Regions from separate parts of the Homo sapiens genome. Here regions 2 and 3 are each linked to region 1. Evidence: promoter capture Hi-C in 16 types of primary human blood cells and fetal thymus (Javierre and others, 2016). All regions are on one chromosome and are shown on one strand. Each heading gives the region's core, a stretch centred on a gene start or on the middle of the fragment in contact. The rest is flanking DNA. Distances are from core to core; before and after follow the strand shown. Region 1 has its middle 65 kb from the start of MIR1265. Region 2 holds the start of FAM171A1 (family with sequence similarity 171 member A1). Region 3 holds the start of NMT2 (N-myristoyltransferase 2).

Region 1 (4,744 bases), core at 664-3,163:
CGGTGAAAGTAGCGGCCGCATCCCTTGGTAGGGTCTGTATAGCCCTGGCCCTCGGCTAGGGCTGGGTTTTATTATTTCATGTAAGCTTCCCAACCTCTCAGTATTGCAGATACTTAGCAGAAAGGATTAAGTCCCGAGTTGCCGAAGCCTAACGTCACCAACCTTGCTATTGCCAAGAGCAGGCATGGAAAGGTTTTCCTTCCTCTCTGGAGGCCAGCAATTGACTATCTTGCCCAGTCATAAAAGAAGACACTTAGGAGAAGCCTTGATTCCTAGAAACGGCTGAATTAGGCGTTCTTGCTGCAGGGACAAAGGCTTCCTCCGGGCCTTAGAACGGGCCGAGAAAACCTACCATCTGCCTTCCTCGCCGGGAAGGCACCTTGACTTTGGCTGGGCTGGGCCAGCCCTGGACACACTGATGACAAGCGACGCCTGCCAGTGCCCAGCTCCCTCTTTCCAGGCCCTGTCATTTAATGGCAAATATTTATTGAGGGCCTACTATGCGCCAGGCCTTATGTCCCAGCCTCCAACCCCACATGCTTCACCCCCACACTGTCTGTCACTGACCATCCTCCTGTCCCAGGCTCCTCATGGCTCCTGACTGGCTTCCCCACCGCCTGGTCCCACTTCTCCGTTGCCAAGCCAAAAGGGGTTGTCCCAGCTGTACCCAATGCTTGAGGATGTATTAAGGTATCTCTGCCAGGTAGAAAAGGGTAAATGCGTTGTCTTTCCCCAGACAACAGCATGTTGAAATTTTACCGCTACACAGTGGTTGGGACTTTAAAGGTTAATGCAGGGCTGGGCGCAGTGGCTTATGCCTGTAATCCCAGCACTTTGGGAGGCCCAGGGGGGTGGATCACCTGAGGTCAGAAGTTTGAGACCAGCCTGGCCAATAAGGTGAAACCCCGTATCTACTAAAAATACAAAAATTAGCCAGGCATGGTGGCATGGTGGCACATGCCTGTAATCCCAGCTACTTGGGAGGCTGAGGCAGGAGAATCGCTTGAACCTGGGAGGCAGAGGTTGCAGTGAGCTGAGATCGTGCCATTGCACTCCAGCCTGGGCAACAAGAGTGAAACTCCGTCTCAAAAAAAAAAAAAGGTTAACACGGTAGGATTTTAGAAGAGGCATTTGAGGGCAGCTGGACGTTATGGCTTCAAATCATACCACGTGGTGAGGGGTTGTATCTAGGATGGCCCTGGCCCTGCACGTTGGGTGTGTGAGCAACACTGCAGCCACTCTGCCCCACCCCAGAGCCTGTGACTGAGCCTGGACTTCCTGAACTTCATAAATAAGTGTAGATAACAAATATAAACAAAAGAACAGCAATCATCATCATCACTAATGTTTACTAAGCACTTTACATGAATCTCCTCTAACACTTTTTTTTTTCAACAGGACATCTCCCTCTGACACCCAGGCTGGAGTGCAGTGGTGCAATCGTGGCTCACTGCAGCCTCAACTTCCTGGACTCAAGCAATCCTCCCACCTCATCCTCTCAAGTGGCTGGGACTACAGGCCGGTGCCACCACATCTGGCTAAATTTTTTTTATTTTTTGTAGAGACAGGGTCTCACTATGTTGCCCAGGCTGGTCTGGAACTCCTGGCCTCAAGTGATCCTCTCATCTCGGCCTCCCAAAGTGCTGAGATTGCAGGCATAAGCCACTATACCTACCCTACTCCTTTAACTCTTACAACGGCTCAATGAGGCAAACAAAATCATTATGCCCATTTTATTTTACTTTTTATTTTTTGAGATGGAGTCTTGCCCTGTTGTCCAGGCTGGAGTTAAATGGTGCAATCTCGGCTCACTACAACCTCTGCCCCCTGGGTTCAAGTGATTCTTGTGTCTCAGCCTCCTGAATAGCTGGGATTACAGGCGCGTAACATTATGCCTGGCTACTTGTTGTATTTTTAGTAGAGACGGGGTTTCGCCCTGTTGGCCAGGCTGGCTTCGAACTCCTGACCTCAAGTGATCCACCTGCCTCGGCCTCCCAAAGTACTGGGATTACAGATGTGAGCAACCATGCCTGGTCAGTTACGCCCATTTTACAGATGAGAAAACTGGGGCCAAAGCATTTATTTTCCCAGAATCACAAAGCTAGAAAGCGATGGGACTATGATTCAAATCCAAGTTCTCTGATTCCAGAGCCTGTGCTCCTTATTCTATTGCCCACTCAATTTTTCCCCCAAAATCCAAGCCAACATCCAATGTGAATTCCATCTGACCTTGGTTATGGAAAGCAGCCCCCTCCCCGACACCCCCCCCACCCCTGCTCCCACACACACAGCCATTCTATTGAAGGAGACTAGCCCCAGATGCCCCCTGGCTTCTTGCTGTCAGTAGTGAGAATTAGTCCAACAGTTGGAGAAAAGAAGCCACCGATAACTGAGAGTTGGCTATTGCCTTCGTTCTCTGCATTTTGCTCTTGTAAAAAGCAATGTGTGTGTGTGGAGCCTCTAAGTATGTCCATATGGTGACATAGACAAGACCGCGGTACTTGCTTGTGACAACTGGATCTGACCTTCCCTGGAACTCTTAGGAAAATGTAAATTGCTCTTTCGTGGCCCCAACAGCACATTTTGTACCCACTTTGGTCAAGGTCACTATACAAGGAGGATCCTGGCATGCTGGGAACACTTGCTTACCTTGGGGCCTCCCAAGAATCAGCCCATGGATGGAGACTCTGCCCTACTCACTTTTTATTCTCATGCCGACTAGCACAAGGCAGGTACTCGATGTGTGTCAGTTGACACAAAATAAAGTGAGCATGTCCTAGGGAGGTGAGACAATGGGAAAAGGTGGGTCTCCTCTTGACTCTCATCACCCTTGCTGCCTGGGGTTCCTGTTCCTCCACCTCACTTCCCTGGGGCCTCCCAGTCTGTCTTGCCTCATTGTTCTGTCCCAGGGAGAGAGGGGTGACAATGTCCTAGAGCCAAAGCCATCCCGTGCAAAATCAGGTAGGAGGAAAGTACATACAGTGCTACCCAAAGGGCCAGCCCAGCCTGGAGGAATATGATGCTTTGGGGAGGTACCTGGGGATCCTGTATAGGCAACATAAGCCATGATGGAAAATAAAGTAATACAAGCAGTAACCTCCAAGACAGAAAATTGATTCATTAGTGCCTCTAGTTTGCATGACTATGGAAAAGAACCCTCCCGGCTGAATAACCAGTTATGATCAGCAGTTAAGACCTCTCTTTTGTTTTGTTTGTAAGAAGACCTCTCTTTTGTTTTGTTTTGTTTGTAAGAAGAAGAGAAGAAAGAGAGGAGGGAAGAGAGGGAGGGCAAGTCAATGAGTTGTGCTGAGGATGAGAGGAGAGATTTATCTTTAAGACTAATAGCTTGTCAATGAGAGCTAGCCTGCCTTTGAGCAGCAGCAATAGCCTGCCTTTGAGATCAGCCAAGTCCCTATTATATATTAAATTCCCTTGCCTGAAAAATAAATTGTGGAAGAAAAAGGGAAATTATGTACATTCCATTTTATGGGAATCAGACTTGTCCGTGATCTTCCCGTCTGTCTAGTGGTTTCCACTTGGCTGGATTTATTGGCATGACTTGCCTTGTGGGTTCACTCTCACTGGGCTCCTGCCTCTTTAGGGGGCTAAAAGTCTTTGTGGGCCCTGCAACAATATGAAAGAGGTCTCTTCCATGCAGACCCATCACCGTGTCCACAGAGAGAACCCATGGGCAGTGTTCTGAGATTGCAGGGTGGCATCTTCCAGCACATAGGTAAGTAACAAGCTTTGTGGTAAATTTGCAATGCAAAATAACCACTTACCAGCTGCCAGAGTAGATACGTTTTACTTTTAAGTAAAATATTAAGTAAATACAGATATTTACTTAAATATCTGTAGTGCCTAACTGGAGTTGCTTTGAATTTCTTGAAAGGATTCAAGCCTTGATTTATTTATTTTTATTTTTTGGCTGTGGAAAGACAACGGTCTCCAAGTCCCTTTCAGAAGGAAATCAATACCCCAGAGTTAATACTCCCTTTCTTTGAGGGAATGATATATCTAAACAAGAGAAAAAATATATTTTTCAGCAAATCTTGACCACAAAATTCATCTGCTCAAGGCTTTAGGTCAATTCATTCATCATGGGCAATTTATGAACCAATGAAGTCAGCCAGCTGGGGGGCAAATCAGGATGGAATAAAGTTATGCATTATTTTTGTATTTGTTCAAAGTAAAAATAACTTTTGGAGGGCCTATGGTGTTAAAATATCAGGTTCAACGTAGAAGTTTCCTCTCTGCTCTTATTTTCCACCATTCAAGACTGCAAACAATATGCTTTGAAAGAAAGAATGACTTTTGGAAAAATTGACTTTCGGAAAAATTGACTTTTACAAGGCATACAGTCTAGCGAAAAGCAGAGTGGAATATAGATAAGTTCAAGTTATCTCCCTGCATGTTTTATGGGAGATAGATTATTGATTGTGTCTTATATTTTTGTTCAAGCCCCTTGTCAATCAAGTGCCCTATAGATTATCCTTTGAGAGAACACAATACTATTGATTCTCCTAGACCAAGCTTCAAACATTGGAATTTTGATAGAGATGGCATTGAATCTGTAGGTTGCTTTGGATAGTATGGCCATTTTAACAATATTAATTCTTCTAATCCATGAACAGGATATCTTTCCATTTATTTTCAATTTCTTTCTTTTTCAATTTCTTTCATCATTGTTTTATAAATTTCAGTGTACAAATCTTTCACCTCCTTGGTTAAATTTATTCCTAAG
Region 2 (4,744 bases), core at 603-3,102, 870 kb after region 1:
TCTAATGTCCTAAACATTCGTTTCCTACACGAAGAGACATATAGGTCTTTTTGTATTTTGTAGCTGTCCGCTCTTCCATGATATGCATTACTAAAATTATACACAATTCATAACGGTCATATTCTACCATGGCCATAGAAGCAGCAATGCATTTAAGATATACCAGGAAATGATACTGCAAGTGCCAGAATATGAAAACCTTCAACTCAACATGTAGGCAACAAACTCAACCCAACAGAGTGTTGGCAGAGCCTTTCCTCCCCGTAGCAACATCGTGGTGGAAGCCCGGGCGTCTCTGCTCCCAGGCACCCTGAGCATGTTAGCCGAGGAAAGGGGGTTCCAGCAAGGAGACCCTCGGATGCAGCACTCCTCGTTTCTTTGGCCTGCAGGGCCAACTTTGCAGGACACACACCCTTCTGAGGGGACAGGCCTCGGGCTCGGAATCCCGGGGTTCTGCAGGGCTGCAGGGAGCTCCCTCGCAGAGACCTGAGCCCCCGGCAAGAGTCCAGGCAGCGGTGCCCTGGGTGAATGCAGAGGCTCATCTGCGGGCCTCAGTGGCCCTTTTGAAAACGCCAGCAACAGAGGAGTCCTCGACGCTGTCCCCACAAAAATGTGCCAAGCAAGCCTCAGGGTGGGTGTGGGGGACTCCCCTCAAAAAACGCTGATTTTAAAAACAAAAGACAGGCTCGTGGCCATTCTCAGAGGCGACCACGTTACTCCCAGGGCTGGAAAGCAGATTTGTGGAGGCCAAAGACGAGACAAAAGGCACGAGCTGGCGACAAACTGATCTGGAAAGGATTTTTCTTTTTTTTTTTTTTTTTTTTGGTGAGCGATGAGGGCCTCCCAGTTCAATTCTTTCTTCCCTTACAGAGAAGACTCATGGGCCGCTGAGCAAATCCCTTATGGTCTGGAAGAGACGTCAGATAGGCAGGGGGAGAGAACCCCCCAAACTTTCCCAAACTGCGGCAGGCTAGTGGCTAGTGGCGGCAGCGGACCTCGGGGCCCCGGGACACAGGGGGCACCCCGGGGCGTCAGCCACCCCCTCCCGCCACAACAAAAGGCCCCAGCGCAGCCCAGGAGCTGGGACTTCCCAGACCCGAGCCCGGCGTGGGGAGCCGGGAGCGCGATCGGGCGGCGCGCCCTGGGCGGCCCCTCTGTCCGCGGCGACATGGGAGACAGAGCCGCGTGTCCGAGGCGCGGCATAAAGGGGACCCCCGGGCGCATCCAGACGAGCCCCCGCCGCAGCGGCGACAGCAGCTGGAGCTGCCCGCGCCCCCGCCCGACCCAGCCCCCGATCCCCGGCCCCCGAAGCCTCCGCCCGGGTCACCCCGCGTCGCCGGCCCGCGCCGCCCCCTCGGGAGCGCGTTGCGGGTGCTGCAGGCCCGGAGGCTCCCGATGCGGCTCGGGCTGCGTCGCCACCACGCGGCCCGGGACCCTCCCGCCGCCGCCGCCGCCGCCGCCGCCTCCGCGCCAGGCCCGGCGCGACACAAAGCCCCCGGCCCCGCCGCCGCCCACTGACCTTGGGCTCCGGCGCCGGGCTCCCGCAGCGTCTTGGTCACCGCCTTCCAGACGTGGCAGCCCAGCAGGCACAGCAGCAGCGTCGCGGACCTGCTCATCTCCGCCGCGGGGCCGGCGGCGGCTCGGGCTCGCCGAGAGCGGGCCGGGCGGCGGCGCGTCACGGGCGGCCGGGCGCCGCGCCCCCCTCCATGTCGCTGGCTCCGCGCGCCGGGCCCGCCGCCCGATTGGCCCGGCCCCGCCGCCCCGGCCGCTCCCTCCCGCGCCCCGCGCCGGGTTTCCCCGAAGAGCCGCGGCGGCGGCGGCGGCGGCGGCTGCTGCTGCTCCGCCAGCTCCTTAACCCCTTCCTGCCTCGCCCGCCGCCGCCGCCGCTGCCCGCGCCCAGGCCCCGGGCCCGTGGTGCCACCTGGCGGCTGCGGCGCCGAGGGCGCCCCCGCCCGGCGCCGCTGCGTCGCGCCCCCAGCCCGACCCCCGGCGACACTGCCCCGGCGCGCCCCATCCCCGCAGCCCCGCAGAAGAGCCAGACCTGCCTTTCAGGGCGGAGCCCTTTTCATCACACCAGGTCACCCAAGGGGCCGCAGGAGACATTGTATCTGGGTGTGACCCCCCCACCAGGTGCCATCCTAATGTAGTTGTGTCCCCCAACGTAGATTTCACACCCAGTGTTAAAGATCCGCAAAAACACTCCCCAAGCCAGTATAGACTGCAGTAGGCCTGCAGTACCTACGTGTTGGCGGGTGGACAGCTTCAGGAGGAATGGTACTTGGATGGTTCTAGGGGTTAGGGTGGGGAGGAAATCCACATCTTTTGAGGCCCTAGGTGCTTTAAAACTTTCTGTCCTATTAAAGAAAAAAGACTATTCCATGACACGTGTGAAAGCACAGCAAAGAAGACCCTCTTTGGAACCATCGCAATAGGTATAAGCCCTACCATGGGATTCTGCAGTCGGGGAGAAAGGTTGGGTTCAACTCTGAATACAGCAGGAACAAGTGGGGATTTATAACCGAGGACCAGGGTGGGATGCAGGGAATGAAAAATTATAAGAGGAAACATCAGGGGGAAGGGGGATTCTTGAAAGTCAGACATCCCCTGGCAGGGCTGGGCAGGACAGGGCGGATGGGGAAGCTGATCAGATATCCAGGGTGGAGGGTTCTTGGTAAACTGACTTAGCAGGGTTCTTCCTGAAAGCAGATTTTACAAGGAAGGGCACAACTGAGCCTAGAAGAAGGTTCCGGAGCCTGACTGTAGTTCGGTCAAGCAGAGACTCTTTGTCCATCTTCACAATACATGATCTAAGAGGTAGTTAGCATTATCCCCCCCATTCACAGATGAGAAAAGAGGCTAAAGAGGGTTAAGGAATTTGTCCAAAAGTGCATACCTGGTCAGTGGCAGAGCCAAAATTCTAATAAAACAGTCAGTCTGACCCCAAAATTGAAACTCTTCACAAAAACCTCCAGACTTGGCTGGGTGTGATGGTTCATGCCTATAATCCCAACACTTTGGGAGGCTGAGGTAGGTGGATGGCCTGAGTTCAGGAGTTAAGAGACCAGCTGGGCCAACATGGTGAAACCCTGTCTCTACCAAAAATACAAAAAAATTAACCAGGCATAGTGGCCCATGCCTGTGGTCCCAACTACTCAGGAGGCTGAGGTGGGAGGATCGCTTGAACCTGGGAGTGGGGAGGTTGCAGTGAGCCAAGATCGTGCCACTGCACTCCAGCCTGGATGACAGACTGAGACCCCGTCTCAAAAAAAAAAAAAAAAAAAAATCAAAAAATAAAACCACCAAAAAAACCACACACAAAACAAAACCAAACCTCTAGACTTTCCTTGAGCCTAGGGACCCCCTCCATTCCAACCTCAACTTTTCTTTCTCTCAACCCACTCCTGTCGGTATGCCTTCCACACAACCTTCACCTCCACTTGTCCCTCTCCACCTTCTCTTCCAACTAGCACTGCGGTGACCTTCCGACTTCCACTGGGGACCTAGGAAAATCCACTCCAGACCCATCATCCACCCCACACTGCTTCCAGAACACCAGGCCAGAAGGAGGGTTATTACTGTAATTTCATTAATTGAGCATTTAGACATGGCAGGCACCGTACCAAAAAAAGAATGAAGGATGGCACTTGCCCAGTTGGCTTATAAAAGACAAATGACTGTGAGACATGAGAAAAACTAGGACGTACAGAAGCCCATATGGGTTTTATAGTCACCCTTAGGACCAATGCTGCAATTTGCGCAAATCACGCACCTGCACAGGGTGGCAGGTAGTCAGGAAGGCAGAAAGAAATAGGGACTGCTGGATTCCCTCCTTCTTCTGATTCCTGCATCTAAGCCTAATATATGGCATCAAAGTTCCTAATATATGGCACTCACTGAACTGGAGCTATTTCCTCATAACAACTTATTTGGTAGGTATCATTGTTTCCATTTCACAGATGAACAAACCGAGGCTTGGTGCCATTAAACAACTTGCCCACAATACAAAGATCTGATAAGTGTAAATTCCCTATACCATGTTACTTCTGAGAATAAATTTTATGCAAATGATTCAAATTACCTCCAGGAGTGTCCAAATTGTTTGAACCTGCTCTAATCCCAGTGAAGTGCAAATCTAGTGAATACTATGGTGCCAATGTTCATTTCCTGGCATTGACAGTGTACTACAGTTATATAAGATGTTACAATTGGGGGAAGCTGGGAGAAGGATAGATGTGACCTCTCTGTACTATTTTTGTAACTTTTTATGAGTCTATAATTATTTCAGATGGAAATATTTAAAATAGAAAAAAAATCCCATTCTATGCCATTTTTCTAAGTCTTATTGTTCACTCAAAACACTGGTGTTTGTGATCTTAGTATAGAGTTCCAGAATGTTTCAGGGTGGAAGAAATCTTAATAAACTGAATCAAGTTGGGTTCACAATCTTAACTGTATCAAGCTTGTCCAACCTGCCTTATTTTGTTGTTGTTGTTGCTGTTGTGTTTTTAGACTTTTAGCAGCCTAAAGCCATCGTTTTCAGTTTCCATCTCTAGTGATAAGTGGAAAAGAGGGATGAGGAAGGGGCTTTACTGGCTCAACCAAAAATAGAAATGAAGAACCCATGACTGTATTCTCTCCCTTGGACACCCCTGCGAGACGCTCAGGTCTGATGGAGGTGGTTGTTATTATCGTGTATAACAATACTTTCCAGGACGAATTGGAACTTTAGGAGAAGTTTATGTAC
Region 3 (4,744 bases), core at 1,332-3,831, 670 kb after region 1:
TGGTGCAAAACAAGACTCTAATTGGGTATTTTCCTTTTATTTGAGGCTTTAGTTTCAACTTAATATGTCTAAAAGGACTAGTAAATACATTATACTGAGTGGTGGGGTAAATGAATTCTTTCAGGCCACAAGGGCACTATTCAGTAAATTACCTCTCTGCACTGGCCGCTGCCTGGTGGCCTCAAATTGACAAACTGCCTTTAAGAGGTGAAACATGTTCTTACTGATTCATCCAAAGGCTCATTATTTGTTATTTATTTAAACTGATGGGAATGAAGAGGCCGAGTATAGAAAAAGAGTCTTTCAAATTTTAACATTTACAAACTTGAGCTACTTAAAGAAAACCTAGGTTTCTACTGCGATATCATCAGTACATGAGCCAAATAAAACACATTTACTCCCCCAAATTTGGCACACATTGTCTAAATTCAAATCCAAACAGGCAATCCAAGGAGAGCAGTCATTTGGAGTTTTCCTAATCTCCTTACATTTAAATAGAGTACAATACATCCATTATGTTAATCTTTTCCCACTAGAAGCTATTAACATGGTATCTGCTCTTGGTGAAAACATTTCAGTCCATGGGGCATCTCTAAATTTTGATTAACCTTTCTAATATATAAAATGTGCTGATATACAAAACTGAAAACTTCCGAAGGCAGCACAGATGCCTCTGGGTGCTACTCTGGGAACTTTAGCTTCTTGAAAGGTGTCGGGGGACAGGCTCAGATCAATGCGCACACAGATGAGGAATTCTTTGTACCAGGGGCATTCTCAACAGTGTAAGCAAAGAAGTCCTAATCAAGCCCCCAACCTAGAATATCAATCAAAGGAGGAACAATAAACAGAAATTACAGCAGAGAAGATAAAAGTCCAGGGTCTCTCCAGAAAGAAAACACAGGTACTGAAGCTAATCCATCAGCTTGCATCTGCACCTGGGCCCATTTCTGGCAATAGAACTACCGTTTCAAAAACATATTTGTATTTAGCTATCTATCACAAACACGTTTCTATCCCTGCATAAACAGGGCTCAGGTTCAGATTCCTATGCAATTTCCTTTCCTCTCTTTAAAAAAAAAAATATTCTAGACTCGAACATTCGATACTTGCAGCCGCCACTGAAGTATTCACGGCAAAGATAAAAACAACTTGCAAATGGGAGATGCACATAGTCAGCTTTTCTTTTTCTTCATTTGTTAATATTTTATAATGAATTAGAGGTCAGTCAAAAGTCCCTTTCTATAATAAATCTTAAAGTAGACAAGTAGAATGCAAATGATTTACACTTTCAATGATCAATCATTTCAAGAATCTCTCTACGAACTGAGTAAACCATCTGTGACTCAGGCCTCCCTATCATGTTTTTTAAGCTGACCCACTTCTCCATCACTCACCATGGTTCGAAAAATCTCACTTCTAAGGGTGTAGCAAGAACCGCTCTGTGCCAGCGCATAGTTTGAATCCAATAGGGTAAAAGGGTAATGTAAACAGCACTTTAAAAGGACACCAGTTTTTATTTAAAATGACCCACTGCCTCTAAAAAGAGAGCATCAACACCGGCCTTCACCTGAAGCAATCCTTTTCTCCAACAGAAGAGCAAATCAAGTCTGCAGGGTTCGGGGGCAAAGGGAAAGGATTAAGAAATCCGATCAAGTGTGAAAATGCGTGGTGCATCGAGTTTTGGAGATCAAATACCAGCTTTGCAAACAGGATACGGCCAGGTCAGCGGGAGCCCGGTTCAGGGGATCGGCCCTGCTCTGAAGAGCTCTAGGGACAGGCGAGGCGGTGCAAAGCCCAGTATCCCCAGCAGGGGCCGGGCCCGGGACCCCCTCGGCGCCAGAACTTTGCGCAGTTCGCCGCCTGCGGCCCCGACACCATCGGGGCACCTCCACGCCGCTCCACCCACGTCTTTGCCCATTCTTTTCGGGTGGCGGCTGCGGAGAGGGAGTCTGAAGGGACTTAACAAGGATGGCAGGGAGCAGAGGAGGGCGACCTCCTACCCCAGGCTGCGGCCGCCACAAAGGGAAGGGCGTAGCGCCTCTCCTCGGCGCCCACCGGAGCCACCCGCGGGCGAGGGCAACAGGCGCCTCCTGGGCCAGGCCGCCGGCGGGGATGGGCGAGGCTGGCCGGGGGCGCGCGGCAAGTGACAGTAGCGTCTCCCCGCCCGGGCCCCAGCCTCCCCGCCCACCCCGGGCCTCGCCTCCCCGCGCACTGCACTCTCCCGCGAGCCGCGCGCCCCGGACCTCACCATGGGCTCCGCGCCACGGAGAAGCCATCGCGGGGCGGAGCGGCCGAAGAACCCCCAGTCCTGGGAGCCACCCCCGAACGGGAGACCGTGGCGCGCGCGGTCCCCGCCCTGTCGCGCCCGGTGCGCCAGCGCGCCGCCCCTACCCTTTGGCGTGCTCCGTCTCCTCCTCATTGTCCCCGTCTATCCCGCACGTGTCCTGGTCGTCCAGTTCCAGGCTCTGCTGGCTGGCCGCAGACTCGCTGTCCTCCGCCATCGCGGCGGCGCTGGCTGGGGAGGCGGTGCTCGGGGCCGGGCCGGAGCGGCCGCAGCTCCCTCTAGTGCCTCCCGCCGTACTGCTTGGAGTCGGAGCCCGGGCGCTACGCCCCGCCCCGCCCCGCCCGCGCCCCGTCCCGCCCTCCGTCCCGCCCCCTCCCCGCCCTCCGTCCCGCCCCGCCCTCCATCCCCGCCCCTCACCGTCCGCGCCCAGCCCGCCGGCCCCGCCCTGCCCGCCGGCCCCGCCCTGCCCCACGGGCTTGAACCCCGCCCACCTCTTCGTCCCTCCCCACCAAGCCCCGCCTCTCCCCGTCCCGCCGGCTTCAATCCAGCTCTCTAACCCCGCCCGCCTCTGAGACCCCTCCCCTCCAGCCCCGCCTTTCCCCACCCTGCCGGCTTCAAACCCGCCCTCTAACCCCGCCCACCGCCGCAGCCCCTCCCAGATGGCCCCGCCCCTCCCCGCCCCGCCAGCTCCAACCCTGCTCACCCTGGCCAGCCCTGCACAGGGCCGAGTCCTGTACATCCAGGCCTGCGCGGTGCCTCTGCCTGGGGCTCGGCTCTCAAAGCTGCAAACGTGCAGACTTGACATCCTGAGTGGCGGCATTTTTGGAACACAGGCCATGCGATTTTACTTCTGGACGAATTAGGGAGCGCTCCCAGCCCGTGCAGGGGTTTTTCCCACTCAGGAGTAGGCACTCAGGGATGGGGCTTTCCAGAAACTCTTCCCGCCCCTCCACATACATGTTAACAATTCCATTTCGCATCTATCTATCCATCTAATACATTATAAAATCAAATTCAAAGTCAAAAACAGTATTTCCAGCCCTCCACCGCCCTGTCCCAACCAGGCTTGCAGCACTAAAACTCTTGACAGAAATTTTTGAGCTACCCCTGCTTTCCCTGGACACTACTACGGACGGCTCAGACCAGAACAGACATCTTGAGGGACTTGGGGACGTGTCCACGATGCTGGGGGATTGGACAGTTTCAGGTAGGCTACCCTGGCTTTCCCAAAGTCAAGGTCATGACCTAGATTTCCAAGCAAACGTGCACGGCCTTCTGTGCTGAAATTGTCCGCTGTCTCTCTCAGAAGAGGGAAGGGAGGCATTCTGTAGTACTGCCAAATAGAAGACCGGTGAAGTTCAGCCTCTCTTATTTGCTACTGCATTCTGTACAGAGCAGTCCTGTCCTTTGCTTTGCTGAGATGATCTTGTTCAAATGTGCTGCTAGGCCACCGGAAGTCTCCGCAGTGGTTTTGCAAAGATAATCATCAGAACCCGCTCAGTGAGGAAAATGAGACTTTAAAGAGCCACCTGAATTTTTTGGTGTGGGTCCTTTTTTTGCAGAAGATACTAGGAGCATTTTATGGCTTTTTTCCCCAAGGGAGACTATGTTTTTAAAACGCAATGAGCTAGAAGTATCAAAAGATGAAAACTGCAGAGCGATTTCAAAGCCCGTCAGCTGTTTGGCATTGAGACAACTAAAATTCTGTAAGAAGGGCAAATGGGGTCAAAACACAAAAGGAAATACAATATTGCCTTTAACAACGGCAACTATTTCTGAGGCAAAATGTCACATGTCACCTCTGTGAAACTTTAGGATAGAAGCAAATACAGATGAGTGAGGTTCCTGCAGCTCATCTCTGTGAACATGGATTGTTGGAGAACCCGCAGCCCGCTCGGGTAACCAACAGGAAACTGGCCAGGAGCAAGCCTATCAATCAAATCATCCACTCTAACCTGCCAGAAGGGTTCTCTAAAAGAGTTTTTAAAACTTAAGGCAAAGGAAACTCAGCAGTCATATATTTATCTGAATTTTCAAGAAGTTTTGACTAAGAACTGCTCTAAAAAAGAATAAGAAAACAAATAATCCTGGAAAAATAAAATGAGGGCATCAAAAACCAGTGAAACACTAGAAAACAATGACAAACAGGGAACATCTGTTCCCCAGAATGGAAACAAGTTGGTACAGTACTGGATTGAAGTACATCGGTACAGTACTGGATTGAAGTATTATATAATACAAATGTTTTACAGCATTAATCTTTGGAAGGAAGGAAAAGTTTACAGATGACCCTGGGGCTTCCTAAATCCTACTGTCCCGTATAGAAACACTATGTTTCTAAATATTTTTACTTATTTCCCTGGCTTAATTTCAGAATTTGGAGAATTGGAACCAAGTGGCAACTTCCAGCATCTTAGATCTAAAGTTTATTTGGTGGATGGGAGCACTGTGAAATGGCTG

Evidence for each region. Contacts are between HindIII fragments. The CHiCAGO score rates a contact against its expected background, and 5 or more counts as called.
Region 2: a contact is called between the fragment with the promoter of FAM171A1 here and a fragment that was not itself captured in region 1, in 1 of 17 cell types (fetal thymus). The highest score is 8.6, in fetal thymus.
Region 3: the fragment with the promoter of NMT2 here is called in contact with a fragment that was not itself captured in region 1 in 1 of 17 cell types (total B cells); the score reaches 5.3 in total B cells.

Annotation. Positions count from the first base shown.
Region 1 is chr10:14,499,133-14,503,876 of GRCh38, forward strand. No RefSeq gene overlaps it. Among named protein-coding and RNA genes, the nearest start is that of MIR1265, 65 kb to the left of the region's middle. The HindIII fragment of the contact is 3,660 bases long and covers 84-3,743 here.
Region 2 is chr10:15,369,437-15,374,180 of GRCh38, forward strand. FAM171A1 (family with sequence similarity 171 member A1) reads right to left here and starts at 1,853. Exons shown (of 8, transcript NM_001010924.2): 1 at 1,520-1,853. The coding sequence starts at 1,616. RefSeq lists silencers at 1,610-1,839, 1,850-1,899. The HindIII fragment of the contact is 10,313 bases long and covers 1-4,457 here.
Region 3 is chr10:15,166,112-15,170,855 of GRCh38, forward strand. NMT2 (N-myristoyltransferase 2) reads right to left here and starts at 2,582. Exons shown (of 12, transcript NM_004808.3): 1 at 2,392-2,582. The coding sequence starts at 2,501. RefSeq lists silencers at 225-425, 1,952-2,781. The HindIII fragment of the contact is 10,106 bases long and covers 1-4,744 here.